Linked DNA regions of Homo sapiens: all the other regions are linked to region 2. The links are contacts of gene promoters, found by promoter capture Hi-C in blood cells and fetal thymus (Javierre and others, 2016). All regions are on one chromosome and are shown on one strand. The core of a region is centred on a gene start or on the middle of the fragment in contact, and the rest is flanking DNA. Distances in the headings are between cores, read along the strand shown.

Region 1 (2,700 bases), core at 75-2,574, 600 kb before region 2:
GCCAGCACGTCCCAAACTGGATCAATAGGTGGCACGCAGGGTAAAAAGTGCAGATGGGGAATTCAGAGCTCAAATCATTTTGCAAAATCTTAGGTTCAAGAACATTGACCAGGTTTATTTACCATGGGACTTCTCGGGGCTTTTGATATTCTGACATCTGGGATGACTCTCTGAGAGGGAGTTCTACAGAATAAGAATGGCATTTCCCAAACGTATTTGGCCACTGAGTACTGCCTTCACAGAATCTCTCGTAGTTCTTCAGAGCATACTTTGAGAAATGCTGGGCAAGATTGCCTCTAAGATCTAATTATAGTTTAAAGATCCATGGATATTTATTTATTTATTGAGACAGGTCTCACTGTCACCCAGGTTGGAGTGCAGTGGTATGATCTCAGCTCACTGCAGCCTTGACCTCCTGGGTTCAGTCAATCCTCCCACCTCAGCCTCCTGAGTAACTGGGACCACACAGATGCGCACCACCATGCCTGACTAATTTTGGTATTTTTTTGTAGATATAGGGCTTCGCCGTGTTGCTCGGGTTGGTCTCAAACTCCTGGGCTCAAGCAATCCACCTGCCTTGGTCTCCCAAAGTGCTGGCATGAGCCACTGCACCAGCCTTTATTTATGATTGAAAATTACCTATTTTTAAAAAGTGATTTGGCCCATATGATACACTAATTTAGCCCATAGAGAAACAGATTTTTAAGAGAGCCAAGAGAAAAAAAACAATTCACAATAAATTCAGTGTTTTTTATCTATTTTAAATCAAAGCAAGAGCACCAAGTTGTTTCAATAAAAATTGTGGCAGGAGGGCTGGGCATGGTGGCTAACGCCTGTAATCCCAGCACTTTGGGAGGCCGAGGTGGAAGGATCACGAGGTCAAGAGTTTGAGACCAGCCTGCCCAACATGGTGAAACCCCATCCCTACTAAAAATACAAAAAATTAGCTGGGCCTGGTGGCGTGCGCCTGTAATCCCAGCTACTCAGGAGGCTGAGGCAAGAGAATCACTTGAACCTGGGAGGCAGAGGTTGCAGTGAGCCAAGATCATGCCATTGCACTACAGCCTGGGTGACAGTGTGAGACTCTGCCTCAAAAAAAGAAATTGTGGCAGGAGGTAAAGAGGAACAGATACCAAGGCCATGGTGTGGTGCCTCCAGCTGGGAGTCAGCTGGAAACTATGGTAGGTTCTCCCGGGAAGGAACCACCAATGCTCAGGGGACCTTCTTGGAACTGAGTCCTCTTCCGTGGAGGTTTTGGGGCTTCCATCTGACCATATTAACTCTTTATATAACACTCCTCTCCACCCACACACACACACACAGGGCTGTCAACAACAGCAGAGTCACCAGCAACTTCAGCTCCACTGAAGCCAATGAAGAAAACAATGACTTAGAGAAACTCCTCCTCCTCTTCACTGTGACATCATGAGTCAGAAGGGGACAGTCTCAGACATAAGATCTGCCCCCTACCCAGCCTAGTCCAGCTTACCCTGGGGAGAGAGAGTTTGAACCATATATGAGATGGGAAACCAGACCAGATTGTTTTAATAAACACAAGTGACGACTTATGAGTTATGACAGAGAATCAAATATTGTTAAGGGGACTGGGTCCCTAGAGGGAAAGGAGAGCCAGTGACAGGAACACACAGCTGGTAGCAGCCATTTGCAAGATAAAACTGCTCCATGTTTCTGCCTCAACAAATTGAATGTCTTCAATCAAACTGGTTGAATATCTGGGACAGCCACGAGAACAAAGTAGGAAGGAGCAGAGCGAACTGAGAAGAGAACACACAGCCAGGAGATGCACAGAAAGGAGATACATTTCCTTTGCCTGAGTCACCAGAAGAGTCTTTAGAGCCACGGTGGAAACCAAGGTGGTGACCAAGGGGTGGGGAGGAGAAAGGGGGCCTTGCAGGCTGAGGCCACTGGCTGCTTGGAAGCATGAGTTGGGGCAGAGCATGGCTTATTCTGTGAGCCATGAATAGCTTGGCATAGTGGGACCAAAAGGCCAGGCTGTGTGGGTGGGGTGGACTGAAGAGGTGGGCTGGGGTTAATTGAGGAAATACCTTCCATGGCAATTCAATCAAAATGGAAACATGAGGAACCATTAAAACTGTTAGTCAAGAGGACTGATGTGACTGGGTTTGCATGTTGGAAAGACTGCCCCATAACAGTGTGGGATAGGCATTGAAAGAAAGTAGGGTTGAGGGCAGGAGCAGAGTGGACACACTCAAAATATTTGAGTTTTTTTTTTTTTTAACTTTAAGTTCTGGGATGCGTGTGCAGATCGTGCAGGTTACATAGGTATACATATGCCATGTGGTTTGCTGCACCCACCAACCTGTCATCCAGGTTTTAAGCCCTACATGCATCAAGTGTTTGTCCTAATGCTCTCCCTCCCCTCACCCCCGACAGGCCCCAGTGTGTGATGCTCCCATCCCTGTGTCCATGTGTTCTCATTGTTCTATATGAGGGGTTTCTATAGCAGTTGGCAGTCAGGTGTCTGGGTATGTCTGTGAGGAGGTAAGAGAGAGAGAAGAGCAAGAAAGAGGAGGTCAGCATTAATTCCAAGAGTAAGACAACCAAGTAGATGTTTGTGCCTTCATCCAGCCCTTCAACAAGTGTATATTTGCATTAATATAGAAGCATCATTTCTTCCCTCTCCCCTGAAGACCTTTCCTATGATTTACGGAAAGGAGA
Region 2 (2,808 bases), core at 300-2,799:
TCTCCCTTGGGGATGTCACTTTCACTGGCCTCCTTAACTTGACAACCCTTGCTGTATTCGTGACACAAGAAAACACTCACCTGAACCCTGTTGTCTTTTCATTTTTATTTATTTACTTATTTATTTTGCTAGTTGCCCAGGATCTCTTGAACCCCTGGGCTCAAGTCATCCTCATACCTCAATCTCCTGGGTAGCGTACGCCACTTCCAGCTGAACCTTTTTAAAGAAGAAGGTGTTCTAACAACAATTATTGTATGCCTACTCTGAAGACCCAAAGAAAGCCAGCACAGCAATATCTGCATAGGTTAACTAAAGTATTTAGGTATCTTGTTACTCATTTGTAAAACGTGAAAAACACCTGTCATAGAGAATTTGTAGGGAATTAAATATGGTATTCGTGTAAAGGTGCTTAGTGGTGTCCAGTACACTGTTAATAATTATGCTTTTACTATTATCAGTAAATACTGCTAATATGTATAATACCACCATCAACAACGACTTAGCATCTAAAGCAAAGACAGATACTTTATTTCCCACCGCGGCAGAACAGATATTATTAAATTGAAATCACCACACAAAATACATGATTTCGTTCGAGCAATAAATGATGACCTGGCGCTCTTGAGAGTGTATACATTAATACATTATCTTTTAATGTAATACCATTTACAAAGACCTAGGAGTCACAACCCAAGGTATTCTCTACACTACAAAGACACCCAAAGGAAAAATGAGATGAGGAGTGAAAAAAAGAGAAAGCAAAAGAGGAGGCAAAAAGAGAAAACGAAAACTTAAAAATAACCCAACTTGAATTGACTCAGTATTTACAATAAAAAAGAAACGTACCCAATCCATTAAAAAAAGCTTAAAAGCGCCAAATTCCAACACCATAAAGAGACTATCTTTTAAGGACAGACAAAACGAGAGGAGAAATTTTGCTCAATATTCTCTTATGTAAAATGTGGTGAAAATAAGTGTAGAAGTCTGTGAAGAATCACTTTAACTACTTAGACACGAGTCGGACACCTCCCTCCCCGCGCCCCAGTCGCATCCTCAAAGTCATGAAAAATGTCAGAATTCGCATTGGCACTAACCCTTTGGGCGCACCACAACCCAAGAAACGAAACGAGGGTGCACCCCAGAAGAAACTTAACATTCACGGGTAAGAGACGAGGGGGTGGGACCAAGCTGGCGGCAGATCCCAAGAGTTTGGGGAGCTGCAGAAGTCGGGGACGCTCGCTCCGCAACTCGGAGGCGCAGTCCTGGGGAGCCTGCGACCCGCACGAGGAACGTGCGGGGTGAAGTCGTGTGTCCAGGCACGGACGTAGGACCCTGGCCGCCCCGCACTCACAATTCTATCATCCAGTCTCCTTCCAGCAGTTCTCTCCAGTTCTCGTCCGTGATGACGCGAACGTTGCTCCGCCGCCCGTGCGTCCAGGGAGCACCCCAAAGCAACAGCACCAGGACTGCCAGGGGAACTGCAAGACTCCCGGAGGGCGCCATTTCGCCGCTTGCCCACCTCACAGGGAGCGCGGTCGCAGCTCCCACTTCCGCCCTCGCGGGCTGCTCAGCGCAAGCGCACTACGGTGCTGCGAGGAGCGCCTGTCTAGAGGACTCTCAATGCGCATGACAGGGGTCTGATCCCAGTGAGTGGTGAAGTCGGGAAAGAGGGAAGAACGACTCTCCGCAATGCGCATGACAGAAAAGCGGCTGCTTCTACCGCCTAGGGTGTCCCAATATTGTGGGGGAAGGAACAGAGCAAAAGGAGGCGTGGTGTAAAAAGTGGGGCGGTGCTTTGAGGAAGAACGGTTTAAAAGACCCTCCCAGGATTTTGGCGCCAAATGGTTAGCGTTTACAAGCAAATTGGTAAGTTTATAATGTGCTAAAGCAGTTTTCCAATTAAATGTCCTTCAGAGTTCTCATTTGTTTTCTTTGAAACATGTAGTAAAGCTAATGGATTTTATAGGAGTCGGAATATTGGTTTACTTCTGAGAGATTATAGACAGGGAAGGTGCAGAGGAACATTATGGTTATGTTGGATGTGTTGGAGGTGTTCAACATCTAGATATGAACAGTAGTTACATGGGCGTACGTATATGATTTTTTTTAAAGAAGGATCAAGCTGTACATTTTAAGACAGTGCACTTTATGCACTTTCAGGTGTATGTTATCTCTCAAAAAAAATTCAGTAGGTACAGAGATCCTAGGTCAGTACTTCAAAATGGAACCAGACACATAGGCTTGTAAGATATTTGAGTTTTTTCTCTCAAACATTCGTAAATACAAATGCAAACCAAAATGTGCACTGCCCCATCAGTCAAATGAAAATAGTTGCAGGTGCGGTGGCTCACGCCTGTAATCCTAGCAAAACAGGGAGGCCAAGGCAGGCGGATCACTTGAGGTCAGGAGTTTGTGACCAGCCTGACCAACATAGTGAAACCCCGTCTCTACTAAAAATACAAAAATTAGCCAGGCGTGGTGGCAGGCGCCTGTAGTCCCAGCTACTCAGGAGGCTGAGGCAGGAGAATCGCTTGAACCCGGGAGGCGGAGGTTGCAGTGAACCGAGATCATTCCACTGCACTCCAATCTGGGCTATAGAGAGAGACTAAGTCTCAAGGAAATAGTTGCCACTATCTTACCTCACCTTTTCAACTTAATTAACCCCAATTAGTCCCCTTCCCCACCCCTCCACTGAATAGCCCTCTCAAGGACACCAGCGACCAGCAAGATAAATCCCAATTGTTTCTTCTCAATGCATCTAGCATGACTCCTAGCCCCATTCTACCACACCCTTGAAACACTTTACTA
Region 3 (2,885 bases), core at 269-2,768, 540 kb before region 2:
TTCTTCAAAGACTCAACTTCCTGGTCATAATTTACAAGGTTGTAAATCCCTACCCTCTTCTTCTCTTGCCTCCTTTTTTTTCCTCCTTTTCCTGCAAATTGTGCATTTACCCTGTTTGGAAAAGTTCAAGTCTTAGCCAATCATGATCAGCTTACATTGTGCGGTCCAGCCCCAGCCAATAGGGGGAAGGACACAGAAACAGGAACTGCTTTAGGGATACAAATCCCTTCTCTCCTTTGTTCGGTGTGCTCTTGCAATTGTGATGGATGTAAGCAGCACCCTTCTGCAGAAGTAAAGTTGCCTTGCTGAGAAACTCTGAGTGCTGGTTCTTCTTTGTGGTGCCGAGCACTTGTTTCCAACAAAGGCAAGGGGAAAGAGAAGAGGATGAAGTTATTAGAACCTAGAGGCTTGGAGTAGAAACCCTTCATAATTGGGACCTGGATTTCTGGGGAGTAGGTGCCAGTGGACTGGTGCTGGTATTTCTGAGGAGTTCATTCCAGGAGGGTAGAAAATGATTGCTGATTGGATAAAGAAAATGTAGTACATATACACAATGGAATACTATGCCGCCTTAAAAAATAATGAGATCACATCTTTTGCAGGAACATGGATGGATTAATTTCCTTAGGAAACTAATGCAGTAATACAAAACCAAATACCACATGTTCTCCCTTATAAGTGGGAGCTAAATGATGAGTACTCATGGACACAAAGAAGAGAACAACAGATACTGGGGCTTCCTTGAGGGTAGAAGGTGGGAGGATGGAGAAGAGCAGATAAAGGAACTATTGCATACTAGGTTTAGTACCTGGATAATGAAATAATCTGTACAACAAGCCCTCTAACATGAGTTTACCTATATAACAAACCTGCACATGTACCCTCAAACATAAAAGTTTAAAAAGAAAGAAAACGGCTGTTGCTGAGGTGAAAAACCATTATTGAGATGATGCAGGCAGAAACAGGAGGCAAATAGGAGGGAGCAAGTCTCCTCTCCCTCATCCAGCCTCACTGTCCTTCTGGCATGCCAACAAAACACCAGCCAGCTGACCATACAGAAATGTGGTTTGCAGAATCCCCACCTCGGCATCACAAAGCAGAGTACAAAAGGGCAGGTTTGAAACGGAAAGAAAATGGCTTAATAACCAGTACAATGACCTTAGGTAAATTACATAGCCTCACTAAGCTTCAATTCCTATACCTGTATAAGGGGGAGAAATACCTTGTCTCAAGGTTATTGTAAGGATTAAGTGAGATAATGGATACAGATTGCTCAATAAGAACATTGAAAGTAGCTGTAGATCTATGTCCCTGATACACCATCTTTAGCCTCAACATGGCAGCCAGAGGGGGACAAGGATAGGGAGAAAGATGGAAAGAGGAGAGAAGAGCAAGTAGGAGAAGGAGGAGGGAAGAATGGAAAGAGTGCAAGAGGTATTTGGGAACACCATCAGAGAGAAGGGCAAAAGCCCTGTGGACCAGTCCTGTCTCTTTGGGAAGGCTTTTCCCATTTTGAACAAATTATATGCTCTGGGTGCTTTTAATGACTTCTGGGGTTGTTGTGATTTCTGCAAAATCAAGAGAACTAATAAGAGTAGCTGGAGGTATGTGATCATTTTCTAAAAAATTGAAGGCTCAGTAGTTTGGCAAAAGATGACAGCAGGAGGTCTTAATGAGTTAGACCAGAAATTAATCTTGTCTTGTTTCTCCTTTAACTGTTTTTTCCCCCTGTGTCTTTGGCTGATTCTAGCAGCTGTTCAATTGTGTAATTAAGTCACTTCTAAGAGATCCGAGAAGCTGGGTCAGTACTATATGTTCTAGTGATCACTGGCTATCAAGATAAAGCTTGAATTGATATTTTGAGCAGTTATAAAACTCATGCTGCCCCATTTTCATGGAAACTGGCAACTGAAAATGCTAATGGTATTCAGAACCCTACTGCCATCAACAACTCCAAGGAGGGATAAAATCCAGAGCTAGCCTGATGCCTCCAACAATATTTCTCAAACAGTAATTAGTCATTAGGAAAAAAACATAAAGCAAGAAATGCACATTAAAATGATGTATAACATAACCACATTTAAGAATGTATTCCAATACCAAATGTCAAATTTCAACAATGCAAAAACCACAATTACATTTGCATCAGCCTAATAGCTAGGAATGAGAAAAACAGACAGGATAAAATATAGTCTAAGAAATGGAAAATGTTACTGTTCACTCTATTCCACCTGCACAGGAAGAATCTTCACATCCCACTTGGAGGTGTGCCCCTTTGCCTTTATCCTTATTTCCTTCCTGGAGATTGTACATAAATTCCTTATAAATGAAAAAGAGTCACTTTCTGAAAGTGTAAATTGAAATGTGCTGGCTGTATAAACTTATCAAATTAGTTTTGCTGTTGGAGGAAATCTTAATTAAAAGGCTGCTTTGAAATAAGGAAGTGTAATAAAACATTTTTCATTTTGTTTGCTTTCACGCCAGCCACATTCACTTTTATGATTTAATTTTTATTTTTCTTATTTAATGGATGACATTAGATTTGTCTTCCCAGCAGGTTCATTTTCAAAAAGTTAATGAAGTCAAGCTAAGCATATATGGTAGATCATTAGGGTTTCTGCTTACAACCACCAATATCCCATAGTCTTTGATTCCACTTTCTGTTTGGGGACACGATGGGATTTATCAGAAAAATGAATTCCTCTGTCTAAATACAGAGGACATAGCCACGTCCTCTGATTCATGTATTACGAAATCACTTGGGAACTATCAGAATTACAGAGGAAACAGCACCCCGTCCATCTTCTCCAAATGAGTAAATTTGCCATGAGATCACATTTTTTGTGGCTTTACACAATAAAGAATTGAACAAAAGTAAGATTTGA

What was found. Contacts are between HindIII fragments. The CHiCAGO score rates a contact against its expected background, and 5 or more counts as called.
Region 1: a fragment that was not itself captured here is called in contact with the fragment with the promoter of TMX1 in region 2 in 1 of 17 cell types (naive B cells); the score reaches 6.1 in naive B cells.
Region 3: a fragment that was not itself captured here is called in contact with the fragment with the promoter of TMX1 in region 2 in 1 of 17 cell types (M2 macrophages); the score reaches 5.2 in M2 macrophages.

Annotation. Positions count from the first base shown.
Region 1 is chr14:51,843,136-51,845,835 of GRCh38, reverse strand. It overlaps a transcript of GNG2 not described here. Among named protein-coding and RNA genes, the nearest start is that of GNG2, 16 kb to the left of the region's middle. RefSeq lists enhancers at 1,260-1,359, 1,380-1,469, 1,510-1,649. The HindIII fragment of the contact is 4,692 bases long and covers 1-2,700 here.
Region 2 is chr14:51,238,988-51,241,795 of GRCh38, reverse strand. TMX1 (thioredoxin related transmembrane protein 1) reads right to left here and starts at 1,549. Exons shown (of 8, transcript NM_030755.5): 1 at 1,352-1,549. The coding sequence starts at 1,503. RefSeq lists an enhancer at 1,271-1,510 and a silencer at 1,371-1,713. The HindIII fragment of the contact is 7,115 bases long and covers 867-2,808 here.
Region 3 is chr14:51,783,840-51,786,724 of GRCh38, reverse strand. All of the region lies in intron 1 of LOC101927598 (a long non-coding RNA gene), which reads right to left. Among named protein-coding and RNA genes, the nearest start is that of GNG2, 75 kb to the left of the region's middle. The HindIII fragment of the contact is 659 bases long and covers 1,189-1,847 here.